Linked DNA regions of Homo sapiens: all the other regions are linked to region 3. Evidence: promoter capture Hi-C in 16 types of primary human blood cells and fetal thymus (Javierre and others, 2016). All regions are on one chromosome and are shown on one strand. Each heading gives the region's core, a stretch centred on a gene start or on the middle of the fragment in contact. The rest is flanking DNA. Distances are from core to core; before and after follow the strand shown. Region 1 overlaps LOC105371501 (a long non-coding RNA gene). Region 2 overlaps MINK1 (misshapen like kinase 1). Region 3 holds the start of SLC25A11 (solute carrier family 25 member 11).

What was found. The method cuts DNA at HindIII sites, captures the fragments that hold promoters and counts their contacts. A CHiCAGO score of 5 or more calls a contact.
Region 1: a fragment that was not itself captured here is called in contact with the fragment with the promoter of SLC25A11 in region 3 in 7 of 17 cell types (M1 macrophages, M0 macrophages, total B cells and 4 more); the score reaches 10.6 in M1 macrophages.
Region 2: a contact is called between a fragment that was not itself captured here and the fragment with the promoter of SLC25A11 in region 3, in 1 of 17 cell types (erythroblasts). The highest score is 5.1, in erythroblasts.

The regions. Positions count from the first base shown.
Region 1 is chr17:5,050,024-5,054,227 of GRCh38, forward strand. It overlaps LOC105371501 (a long non-coding RNA gene), which reads left to right. Exons shown (of 4, transcript XR_002958101.2): 4 at 3,096-3,359. Among named protein-coding and RNA genes, the nearest start is that of SLC52A1, 17 kb to the left of the region's middle. The HindIII fragment of the contact is 193 bases long and covers 1,724-1,916 here.
Region 2 is chr17:4,836,815-4,840,656 of GRCh38, forward strand. The region is part of intron 1 of MINK1 (misshapen like kinase 1); the gene reads left to right. Among named protein-coding and RNA genes, the nearest start is that of MINK1, 5.4 kb to the left of the region's middle. The HindIII fragment of the contact is 1,041 bases long and covers 755-1,795 here.
Region 3 is chr17:4,938,796-4,942,877 of GRCh38, forward strand. It overlaps SLC25A11 (solute carrier family 25 member 11), which reads right to left and starts at 1,251. Exons shown (of 8, transcript NM_003562.5): 1 at 1,021-1,251; 2 at 265-417; 3 at 1-180. The coding sequence starts at 1,115. RNF167 (ring finger protein 167) reads left to right here and starts at 1,473. Exons shown (of 10, transcript NM_015528.3): 1 at 1,473-1,565; 2 at 1,692-2,198; 3 at 2,282-2,362; 4 at 3,546-3,671; 5 at 3,782-3,869; 6 at 4,056-4,082. The coding sequence starts at 2,115. RefSeq lists enhancers at 1-58, 59-584, 1,301-1,370, 2,251-2,380 and silencers at 1,091-1,160, 1,723-1,917. The HindIII fragment of the contact is 8,197 bases long and covers 1-4,082 here.

The DNA.
Region 1 (4,204 bases), core at 570-3,069, 110 kb after region 3:
TAGAAAGCTTCACTGCAGGCCAGATGCGGTGGCTCAAACCTGTAATTCCAGCACTTTGGGAGGCCGAGGCAGGTGGATCACCTGAAGTCAGGAGTTCGAGACCAGTGAAAACCCGTCTCTACTAAAAATACAAAAATTAGCCGGGTGTGGTGGCAGGCATCTGTAATCCCAGCTATTCAGGAGGCTGAGGCATGGAATCACTTGAACCTGGGAGGCGGAGGTTGCACTGAGCCGAGATCTTGCCATTGCACTCCAGCCTGGGCGACAAGAGCAAAACATCGTCTCAAAAAAAAACAAAAAAACAAAAACAAAAACAAAAAAAACCACAGCTTCGCTGTGCATCCTTGAGCTGCTTTTCTATTTCAGTTGAATGCATATTGCAGTTTATCATGATCACATGCAAGCGCTGCCCTACAGCTGGGCGGTGAGTTCAGAGCGATTACCATGGAGACTGAGAGAAGATTGCGTATCATCCCCCCAAACAGCATTCCAGCGTGGGAACGCCAAATCCAGATGTGAAGAACACAAACAAACAGTATGCAAAAGTTCAGAAGTTAGACTGTTTTTGAGATTGTGCCATTGGACTACTGAAAAGAGACATAAAGATGCAATTCCAACATATTGTATGATCCTGTTTATATGAAATATATAGAATAGACAAACCTCTAGAAATAGTCTCACCTGTCCAGGCTCAGCTCAGAGTGCCACTCCAGTAAGCACAGACAAGTTAATAAGTCAAAAGATACAGGTTAATCCCAGGCATAGTAGTTCGTGCCTGTAATCCCAGCACTTTGGGACGCTAAGGGGGCGTGGATCACCTGAGGTCAGGAGTTCGAGACCAGCCTGACCAACATGGCGAAACCCTGTCTCTACTAAAAATACAAAATTAGCCGGGCATGGTGGCACATGCCTGTAATCCCAGCTACTCGGGAGGCTGAGGCAGGAGAATTGCTTGAACCCGGGAGGCGGAGATTGTGGTGAGCCGAGATCATGTCATTGCATTCCAGACTGGACGACAAGAGGAAAACTCCGTATCAAAAAAAAAAAAAAGGAAAGAAAGAAAATAAAAGATACAGGTTAGAGACATATCCTATCACTGTGACATTGATAAAGATCATATTGTAAAATGGTGAGGGGGGTGGTATGAAATATTTCATGGGAAATACACATGGCCAATAGACATGTGGAAAAGATGCTCTCCCTGACTGTATATATCAAAGAAAGGCAAATTAAGACATCAGTAGGATACCATTTCTCACTTGAAAAGAAAAGAATATTTTAAAGGCCAGGTGCAATGGCCCATGCCTGTAGTCCCAGCACTCTGGGAGGCTGAGATGGGCGGATCGCAGGAGCCCAGGAGTTCGAGACCAGCCCAAGCAACATGGCGAAACCCCATCTCTACAAAAAATAAAATTTAGTTGGGCATGCTGATGTGCACCTATAGTCCCAGCTACTCAGGAGGCTGAGGTGGGAGGATCCCTTGAGCCCAGGAGGTTGAGGCTTCAGTGAACTGGGGTCACACCACCGTGCTCCAGCCTGGGTGAAAGAGCGAGACCCTGTCTGAAAAAAGAAAAATAATACTTTTCAGATAATTTGATTGGTTGGAATTCAGTGAAAGAATCTCAAACCCTGCTGCTATAAATTGGTAGATGAAGGAGGAATTCAGTTACCAGAAGAGGAACAGAGGCACTGGGTAGGTAAAAGCAACAAGGGCTCATTACAAAGCTTTTCTTATTTTGGTCTTTTTTTTTTTTTTTTTCCTGGATAAGTCTCTTGAAATAGAATTATTGGGTGAAACTGTATGACATAGCTGAGGCTCTTGTAACAGACTGCCAAGTTTCTTTCACAAATGGTGATTCTAATATTCCTTTGCATTAGCAGTACAGGGGTGTGCCCCATGCCACCACTCAAAAACAAGCTTTGAAAATGAAAGATAGGCCAGGCACCGTGGCTCAGGCCTGTAATCCCAGCACTTTGGGAGGCCGAGGCGGGTCGCTTACCTGAGGTCAGGACTTCGGGACCATCCTGGCCAACATGGTGAAACCCTGTCTCTACTAAAAATACAAAAATTAGCCGGGCGTGGTGGTGGGCGCCTGTAACCCCAGCTACTCGGGAGGCTGAGGCAGGAGAATCGCTTGAATCAGGGAGGCAGAAGCTGCAGTGAGCTGAGATCACGCCACTGCACTCTGGCCTGGGCAACAAGAGCGAGACTCCGTCTCAAAAAAAAAAAAAAAAAAAAAGAAAAAAAGAAAAGAAAATGAAAGACAAAATAACACCTATAAGCCAAGTGAATAAAGGGCAACAGGACTACAGATTTTTTTTTTTTTTTTTTTTTTTTTTGAGACTGAGTCTCGCTCTTGTTGCCCAGGTTGGAGTACGGTGGCGTGATCATTAGTCAACACAGCCTCGACCTCCCAGGCTCAGGCAATCCTCCCACCTCAGCCTCCCAAGTAGCTGGGACTACAGGCGTTGCATTACCATATCTAGCTATTTTTTTGTTTAGAAGGATCTCACTCTGTTGCCCAGGCTGGAATCCAATGGTACGATCTCAACTCACTGCAACCTCTTCCTCCCAGGTTCAAGGGATTCTCCTGCCTCAGCCTCCCGAGTAGCTGGGACTATAGGCATGTGCCACCATGCCTGGCTAGTTTTTGTATTTTTAGTAGAGATGGGGTTTCACCATGTTGGCCAGGCTGATCTCAAACTTCTGACCTCAGGTGATCCGCCCACCTCAGCCTCCCAAAGTGCTGGGATTACAGGTGTGAGCCACTGCACCCAGCCAACCAGCTAATTTTTGTAGAGACAGGGTTTTGCCATGTTGCACAGACTGATCTGGAACTCCTGGCTCAAGTGATCCTCCTGCCATGACCTCCCAAAGTGCTGGTCAGATCTCAGCTTGGACACTACACCAAGCCACGAGGAGGTCTCCGGATTTTTGTGCCTCATTTTGGGCAACTGCTAAATGAGGGGCTTGGACTGGCTGATTTTTAAGTTTCTTGTGGCATTAATATTTTATAACTCTATAATAACAGCTTCTCTACAGCTTTGAAAGGTTTGGAACAGAGGAAGAATACCTGACATTTATTTGTTGCCAGGAGCTAGGACAAACTGATACTCAGCGGAAGGAGTCCTGAGAATAAAGAAGTGCAGAAAATGGCTGGTGTCAGTCCACAGATGACCAGACTCGTTCACTGGGACATGTAAGACATCCTTTAGGGGTTTGCACAAATAGCTGGTGAGTACTTTGTCTGGATTTGTGGGTCTACACTGATGAGTGGGGCCAAGAGCCAGAGACACAGAAGCTATGTTTTTGTTTGTTTGTTTGTTTGTTTTTTGAGATGGAGTTTCACTCTTGTTGCCCAGGCTGGAGTGCAATGGCGTGATCTCGGCTCACCACAACCTCTGCCTCCTAGGTTCAAGTGATTCTCCTGCCTCAGCCTCCCGAGTAGCTGGGATTACAGGCGCCTGCCACCATGCCCGGCTAATTTTGTATTTTTAGTAGAGACGAGGTTTCTCCATTTTTGGTCAGGCTGGTCTGGAACTCCCAACCTCAGGTGATCTGCCTGCCTTGGCCTCCCAAAGTGCTGGGATTACAGGCGTGAGCCACCACGCCCAGCAGAAGTTATGTTAATATGCCTGAAACCTAATATGCCCTGCCCAACCCAACTTTCTCACCTGCCAGTAGTACCCTGACTTTCCAGTCATCCCGGCTCAAACCGTGTCCTTTTTGACTCCTTGCTTCTTTTATTTGATTATAGTTACAGCCAGCAAGTCCTAACAGCTTGTTCATTCAACAGATATTCTGGAGCTCCCATTTGCTCAGCCCACACTGATTTCTTTCCTCTTACAGCATTTGCATTTGGTACACTCGGCTTGGCACCTGAGAATACTTTTCTTTTCTTTTTTTTTTTTTTGTTTGAGACAGTCTCCCTCTTGCCCAGGCTGGAGTGCAGTGGCACGATCTTGGCTTACTGCAACCTCCGCCTCCTGTTCAAGCAATTCTCATGCCTCAGCCTCCCAAGTAGCTGGGATTATAGGCATGCACCACCACACCTGGCTAATTTTTTTTTTTTTTTTTTTTTTTTTTTTTTAGTAGAGACGGGGCTTCACCATGTTGCTCAGGCTGGTCTCGAACTCCTGACCTCAGGTGATCCATCTGCCTTGGCCTCCCAAAGTTCTGGGATTACAGGTATGAGCTGCTGCA
Region 2 (3,842 bases), core at 25-2,524, 100 kb before region 3:
GTCTGCTTTATCCTTCCTCATAGTATTTATCACCAGCTGACATATATATTCCTGTCAGCCCCACTAAAATGTCAGTTCAGTGGCCGGGTGTGGTAGCTCACGACCGTAATCCCAGCACTTTGGGAGGCCGAGGCAGATGGATCACCTGAGAGGTCAGAAGTTCGAGACCAGCCTGGCCAACATGGTAAAACCCCATCTCTACTAAAAAAAAAATACAAAAAAATTAGCCAGGCATGGTGGCGCACACCTGTAATCCCAGTTACTCGGGAGGCTGAGGCAGGAGAATCACTTGAACCTTGGAGGTGGAGGCTGCAGTGAGCCAAGATTGCACCACTGCACTCCAGCTTGGGCGACAAAGCCAGACTCTGTTTCAAACAACAACAACAACTACAACAAACAGTTCGGTGAAAGCTAAGATTTTGGCTGTTTTGTTCATTTTTGTATCCCCAGTGCCTGTAAGCATGTTTTGCACATAATGGGGGCTCAAACGTTTGTTGCAGAAGTGCCTCTTACAACACGTGCCACTTACAACACAGTGCAGTGCTTGCTTAGAGAAAGTATTCAATAAACCCCAGGCTTCTTAGGCTTCATTTTGCCCCTCTTTTATTTATGCACAATTAAGAATATATTTTTTCTGGGATGTTTTTAGAATCAGACCTTGTCTGGGGTAAACAGTTCTGGAAGCCTCCAGCTGAGCGATGCCCTTGAAGTAAAGTTAGGATCATCCAAGAGAAAATGTGGGCCTCTGTGTCTAAGCTTGGTTATATTCCAGGAGAACCTTCTGACTTGGAACTCTTGGCTTCTCACAAAGGATAAATATCAGTGGAAGTGGATGGGACAAGGAGGGGGCAGGCCCCGGCCTGACCTCTTTCCTTTTGCATTGCTCCTTTTGGTTGACCCACTTCGTAAATCAAACAGCTTCTTTTTACCATCCAGCTCGAAGTTTGACTGCAGTGTCCTTGAAACTGTGGAGCTATGCTTAGCGTCGCTGGATTGAAATCATAGCATGGAGCACATTCAAGGAGGACTTGTTGCTCGGTGGTAGCTGCTGACAGAGATGTTCTTTTTCAAATGATTTTGTGTTGTTGTGTCTGTTCTTTGGATAAGTGTCTTCGCCTTCCTCCTCTCTTCATGCGGCTGTGGAGCCAGCACCACTCGGAAAGCTGGCAGTTCTGGGCATGTATTTCTAGGCTGCTGAGCAACGTGGGACTGCCTCTGTGTTCTGATGTGCTAGCTGTCCAAATGTTGATGACAGATGCCTTAGGCAGGAGAATGGGAAGAGTGACCTCCTGCTGCAGAAGTAAGGACATTCAATAGTGACTTTTTTCCCCTGGAAAATTGCAAAAGGGGAATGGGGCTGTTTGGAGAGCTCGAGGCATTTAGATGAAGTGAAATGCTGCCTTGGCAAAATGACGGAAGGAAGATTACTGAGAACTTGGCTGAAACTAGGTGATCAGTCATTCCCCAAACAGAGGGAGAGACATCCCCACCCTTTATGCTATGGGATAGGACAGTTTGCCATAGTCCTTAGGGATATACACAGCAGGGAGGTTTTGACAGTTAAGATAACAGTAAGGTCAGCAAGAGAGCCAGCTGGCCCACCCCCTCACTCTTGCCCCAGGAGCTCAATTAAAACTCTGCTGGGTAGAATCCTGACTTCACATCTGGCCTCCATTCCTTTCCGCATTGAACTGTGTGCCTAAGACAGGGTAGCACACACAACTTGCACATGTAAACCATCTTTGTTTGTCATTTAGGGGACATGATGGCAGGAAGTGTGCAGCCGCTCTTGATAAGCTTGTATTCTGGTGTAGGTCTGTAGATAAGGCATGCAGTAACCTCTCAACCCAGAAACATAAAGCAATTCTGGACTGGAGAACATCTCCAGAAGCCGGTGAGAGTCTGCCTGTCTAATATTTCTGTCTCCAGACAAAGTTGAATCAGAGAAAGTTATCAATAATCCCCTGTCCTCCACCAGTCAGTCGCCAAGCATTGGCAGTCTATGTATTGAGAATCAGGTTCCAGATTCTATGGAAAGGATGTAATATAGTACTCAGTCCTCTACTAAGCTATTTAACCAGATCTCTGGGGACATCCACCCAAGCAAAGCAATGCCTTTCCAAGCCTAGACTCTTTTTTTTTTTTTTGAGACGCAGTCTCGCACTGTCGCCCAGGCTGGAGTGCAGTGGCGCGATCTTGGCTCACTGCAAGCTCCACCTCCCAGGTTCACGCCATTCTCCTGCTTCAGCCTCCCGAGTAGCTGGGACTATAGGCGCCCGCCACAATGCCTGGCTAATTTTTTGTATTTTTAGTAGAGACGGGGTTTCACCGTGTTAGCCAGGATGGTCTTGATCTCCTGACCTTGTAATCTGCCCGCCTCAGCCTCCCAAAGTGCTGGGATTACAGGCGCGAGCCACCGTGCCCGGCCTAGACTCTTTTTCTTAACTGTTACTGTTTTCCTCAATATCCTGCAACCTTCAAGGTTGGGACATTTTTGTTAAACCTGATTTCCATGAATTACACTCATTTTCTGTGGTCAGTGGGCAGTCATCTTGAAACCTGGTCTTCAGCCCCACTCCCTTCGACACCTACTTTTTACTACTATCTGTCTCAGTCTTCTCTTTCCTGGATTGAAGACAGAACAAAAGTGATCAGGTTAATAAGTCAACTCTCAAAGCATTTCTTGAATTCACACAGAGTATAGTAAGATACAAAAACGTGACTTGGTAGAAGACTTGGATCCTGTCCACAGCTCACGGCCATTTGCTCTCTCCAGTTCTTTTGCCATTCTCCTCCGAACCAACCAGTCCTTGACTTGAGACTGGGCTTCTCTTATCTATAGGAAGCTCTTCTAGGGGGTAATGGAAAAAGGGTTTTGAGGCTCTTTGTTCTTACTAAGGGCGGGAATAGTAAAGGGAGGAGAGAAAAGAGGGATGGAATTGTAGTGACCCAAGAGAGCCCCTGGAGATTTTGTCCAGTGGCTAGACAGCCTGAGGTTGTACGTGCTACGTGTGGGTAGGATTTTGTGTTCTGTTTGAGGAAAGATCTAGAACTAGGCACAGAGGACACAGTGGTGATACAGTCTAGTAGTAGGGAGAGACATTAATCAAGTAATTATTTATTAATGTGTGTGTGTGTGTGTGTGTGTGTGTGTGTGTGTGTGTGTGTGTGATTGCAAGCCATGATAAGGACTGTAGTGAAAACTTTAACATGCCGTGGGCACATATAACAAGAGTTGTTTTGAGCATATGTTCTCAGGATCTCCTGAGGGCTGTGTCATGGAAAAAAAATTGCTTTTACGAGACAAAACTTTTATAAGACAAAAATATCTAGTTGATTGAGAGAGACGTAAATCATGTCAGAAAGCTAAACTGGCATTGCTGCAGAAAGATGAGATAGAGTTGAACCAGCAGGTAGAGTTTGGTGATGGTGAGAATTGGGAGACTCTGGAATGGGGCCATTCTTATGGTGAAGCATTTGGTCAACAATTGAGGGCAAGAAGCCTGAGGATGGGGTGGAAACTCCAGGCTTAATTCCAAAAGGATTTCTTCTGAATCTTCCTGTGGGAGGGGAAAAAAAATGGTTTATTTGTTTGTCTCAAAAGTTAAGAGCATGTATATGGAAAGAGCTTATGACTCATATAATCCTCATTTTTACTTACTGGGGGAGGGACTCTGGGTCCTGGGTCTGTAGTTTAGATGTGGCTCCTCAGAATGGGGTATATGAGAGAGGAGGGTGTATCCCTAGATGTTATTAGCCTAAGGGGTGCCTGGAGTTTGGAAGGTAGGTGAGTCTCACGGAAATAAGAACAAGTAGGCCCAGCCCTCAGCTTAGCTGCATGG
Region 3 (4,082 bases), core at 1-2,500:
GCCACTTCGGCTGGTGTTCCCACAAAGGCACCAGTGGCACCTGCGGTCATGCCAATCACAGCCTTCAGCAGAAAGCCAGGGGGAGTACCATCAGCCCCAGTCAGGCGCTCAAACAGCACGGTATAGATGCCAAGGCGGGTAGTGGTGTAGGTGGCCTGACGCAGCAGGCCAGCCGACAGCCTGAGGAGCAGAGGGGTCAGCATATCAGGCCAAGGTCTAGAGCTGCCAACCCACAGTCTACCCTCCATCCTGAGGCCCCAATACCCAGTGTAAATGCCCCTCAGGCCTTCTGCCTTCAGGATACTGGTGAGGGCATGGAAGCTGGTTTTGTACTCTCGAGTCTTGGCCCCTTCCCCGCTCAACTGCATCCGGTTCTTCACCAGGTCCAGGGGCTGGACAAAAACTGTAGCTCCCATCCTGGGGGAAGACAGAGGTGGAGTGAAGGGCCAGGCATTCCAGATCTACCAGTGCCCACTGGAGCCTGGCAGCAAGAGGTTACAAAGGTCAGGGCCTGCCATGCGATTCAAGAATCAGGATGCTGGTGAGCATGTGTATAAGAGTCTATATGTACACCAAGTGCAACGGGTCTGAAAAGTCTAGTTGTCCAGTAGGGGCCATGCAATGAAAGTGCTCCAAGCAGCTTCATGACAGTCAAGCAGTGACCTGGGGCTGCACGCAGTCCGACACAGGGAGGGGAGGAAGGGGCATCCAAGATTTAGGACTCCAGGTAGTCCTGCAGGAGCCATTTAATGGCCTGGAACCCCCTGCCGCCCGGCCGAGCTTAGCAATGCGCTGGGAAACTCAGCTGGCCCGGCGGGGGTTGTGCAACGACCCTGCATGCAGTCCATAAGGGTCCTGCAATGGGGCCCTAGCAGCCCATCGGGGAACTCGCAATACGCTGGAGATCGCGCTGACCCCGTGCCGGCACAGTTCACTGCAACAGACCCAGAGATGAACCGGGCCCGGTTCCTTTTGCCCTTCCCTTCCTCCTCTTTTCCCATCCCTGGGGCCTGAGCTTACCCGGCCAGGCCCCCAAACAGGAACTTGACGGACTTAGGGGAGGTACGGGGCTTCCCGTCTATCCCGCCGGCCCCGGCACTCGCCGTCGCCGCCATCGCCACTCAATGGCCCTCGGCTCCGGGTCCCGTGCGCGCGCGGCCCCGCTCGCGCCCAAGGTGACACCGCGCGCGCAACAGAGCGAGGGCGCGCGCACGCCCCTCCAGCTCTCAGGTCCGACACCCGCTGGAAGCCGGCGCGGGCGCAGGCGCGCAGCGCAAAGGCGGCCGGGAGTAAGGCGGAGCTGAAGGAGGAGCTTGATGGAAGCGTGCGAGAAGGGGCGTAACTGATTTGGAAACCAGAGGAAAGGCGCTGTTTTCACCGAATTAGAATCGCGGGAAAATAGAGAAGAGTTTGTTTGAAGGTCTCGCGAGATCGAGTGAGTACGGCTCGCCAAGTTGGAGCGCTCTCGCGATAGACACAGCAACTATTCAGCTGCGAGGGGACGGGAGAGGTGGTGAGCACTCTCGCGAGATTTGAAGGAGCGGCGGAGGCCAGAGGGAGGAGAGGTTTGTAAACTAGGAGGCTCCGGGTTTCCGGGCACTTTTATTAGGTCGTCTTCTGGGCCACCAGTGCCCCTTCCATCTCCACAGGCAGTCCCTCCATCGCTAACCTTTTTTTAACCGGCCTTTTAGGACCGGAAGTCCTTCATCTCAAGCATCCAATGCTGAAAGCGGCCTGATTTTCTCTACCGGAAGCCCTTTTCCAGAGGCTGGGAACACGGCCCACCTAGCAGGAAGTCCCACCTCCTTGAGCTCCGCCACCCTTCCCGAAGTTTTTCTGTCACCTGTGTTAGGCTCCGTCCCCTTTCCGCGTTTTATCCCCGTACCAGAAAAGGATACATTTAGTGCCTCCCACCCAGCTCCACTAAACGGGTTGGATATCTCATTCTTTGAGTTGGTGTTCCTTCCCCGGCGCCCCCATGTAGCTGGGAAGTGGGACCTGGGGGTGGTTGGACCCCTGGGATCCTAAAGGAGGGGCAGGGAGGGCGCAGAACTCCGCTTCTGCTCCTTGCTACCAGGACGCGCGGCCTCCTCAGCCTCTTTCCTCCCGCTGCCATGCACCCTGCAGCCTTCCCGCTTCCTGTGGTTGTGGCCGCTGTGCTGTGGGGAGCGGCCCCGACCCGGGGGCTCATTCGAGCGGTGAGTCTGAGGGACGGATGGGGAAAGGGCGCTGAAAGGAAGGGTTGCAGGCTGAAGGGGAACATCGCCTTTTTTGTCCGCAGACCTCGGACCACAATGCCAGCATGGACTTTGCAGACCTTCCAGCTCTGTTTGGGGCTACCTTGAGCCAGGAGGGCCTCCAGGTGATTTTCTTTCTTTTCTTTTCCTCCTTCCCTCCCTTCCTTCCTTTTCTGTCTTTTTTCTTTTTTTAGTATTTCGCAAGATCCTCCATCCTAGGCTGGGGTTGGGGAGGTTTGTCCTGGGTGAAACTGGAGGTAGGAAAATGAAGTTAGGAACTGAGCACGTCTAGTGTAGAACCCAGAATCTAGAGGGAGAAGACAGAGTGTCCACCCCTGGAACTCCGAGGTTATCAGGGAGACTGAAAGTGGACGAAGACAGAAGGCAGGATCAACGGTCCTTATCAGGAAGGTCTCAGGTGCTAGTTATTGCTTATATGACTTTGGGCAAGTTAATCTCTCTGAGCCTTAGTTTGTTTTACTGTAAAATGGGATATTAGAAGTTTTCCTAGGGTTATTGTGAAGATCAAAGTAGATACGCAATTTTGGTAGTATTTCATCCCAAAGACTGCCACATAGCAAGAACTCAGTTGGGCCTTAGTAGCAGTCGAGTTGTTTGTGAGATGGGTAATTAGAAAATTGAAGAGGCCGGGCGCGGTGGCTCACATCTGTAATCCCAGTTCAAGACCAGCCTGGCCAACATGGAGAAACCCTATCTCTACTAAAATGGCAAAAATTAGCTGGGCGTGATGGTGCACGCATGTAGTCCCAACTACTTGGGAGGCTGAGGCAGGAGAATCACTTGAAACCGGAAGGTGGAGGTTGCAGTGAGCCGAGATCGCGCCACTGCACTCCAGCCTGGGTGACAAAACGAGACTCCATCTCAAAAAAAAGAAAAACAAAAAGAAAACTGAAGGGAGGGGAGTGTGTCTGTATGAGTATGTGCTGGAGAGGGGACTGTGAAACAGAACTTGAGAGAAAGTGACATGGGTGGTTTGAGAATTGAATTACAATTGGAATATTAGAAGGCAAAAATAATTGCATTAGCTTGCAGTATAGGGTACAGATTAGCCCATCTGGGACAGCGAGAGGGATGATGGGAGAGTTTGGTGAAGGGATGTTTTATGTCATTGCCTTTTCAAGAGGCTAAGAGAAGGTTGTGATGGTGGGATGCTCACTCAGACCCCAGGAAGGAGGAGGAAGTGAGGATAGAGGATGTGCAGCATGTGGGCTGGTGTGTTTGGTGGCCCCTGTAGAGAGCAGAATCTAGAAAGGAGAAATCTCACTGTTGTTTGCTTCCATCCTTCAGGGGTTCCTTGTGGAGGCTCACCCAGACAATGCCTGCAGCCCCATTGCCCCACCACCCCCAGCCCCGGTCAATGGGTCAGTCTTTATTGCGCTGCTTCGAAGATTCGACTGCAACTTTGACCTCAAGGTTGCTGAATGAGGAAGGGGAGCTGGGCAGCTGAGGGTAAAAAAAAGGCACCAGGAATGAAGACAGGTAAGGCCCATGATGGCTCCTTGTCCTCTGCCTTGTCTCCCTAGGTCCTAAATGCCCAGAAGGCTGGATATGGTGCCGCTGTAGTACACAATGTGAATTCCAATGAACTTCTGAACATGGTGTGGAATAGTGGTAAGGCTGGGGGAATCTATACAGCTGGGCTTTCAGTAGGACCCAGAGATGGTGGGAAGGCTGAAGGCCTCAGGAAAAGAAGCCAATCCTTTAGGTGGGGTGGGGCCAAAGTGCAAGATGCCAGGGTTCCCAGAGGATTTGAGTAGAAGGTTGTGAGTCCCCAGAGTAACACCTTGATCCCTGCAGAGGAAATCCAGCAGCAGATCTGGATCC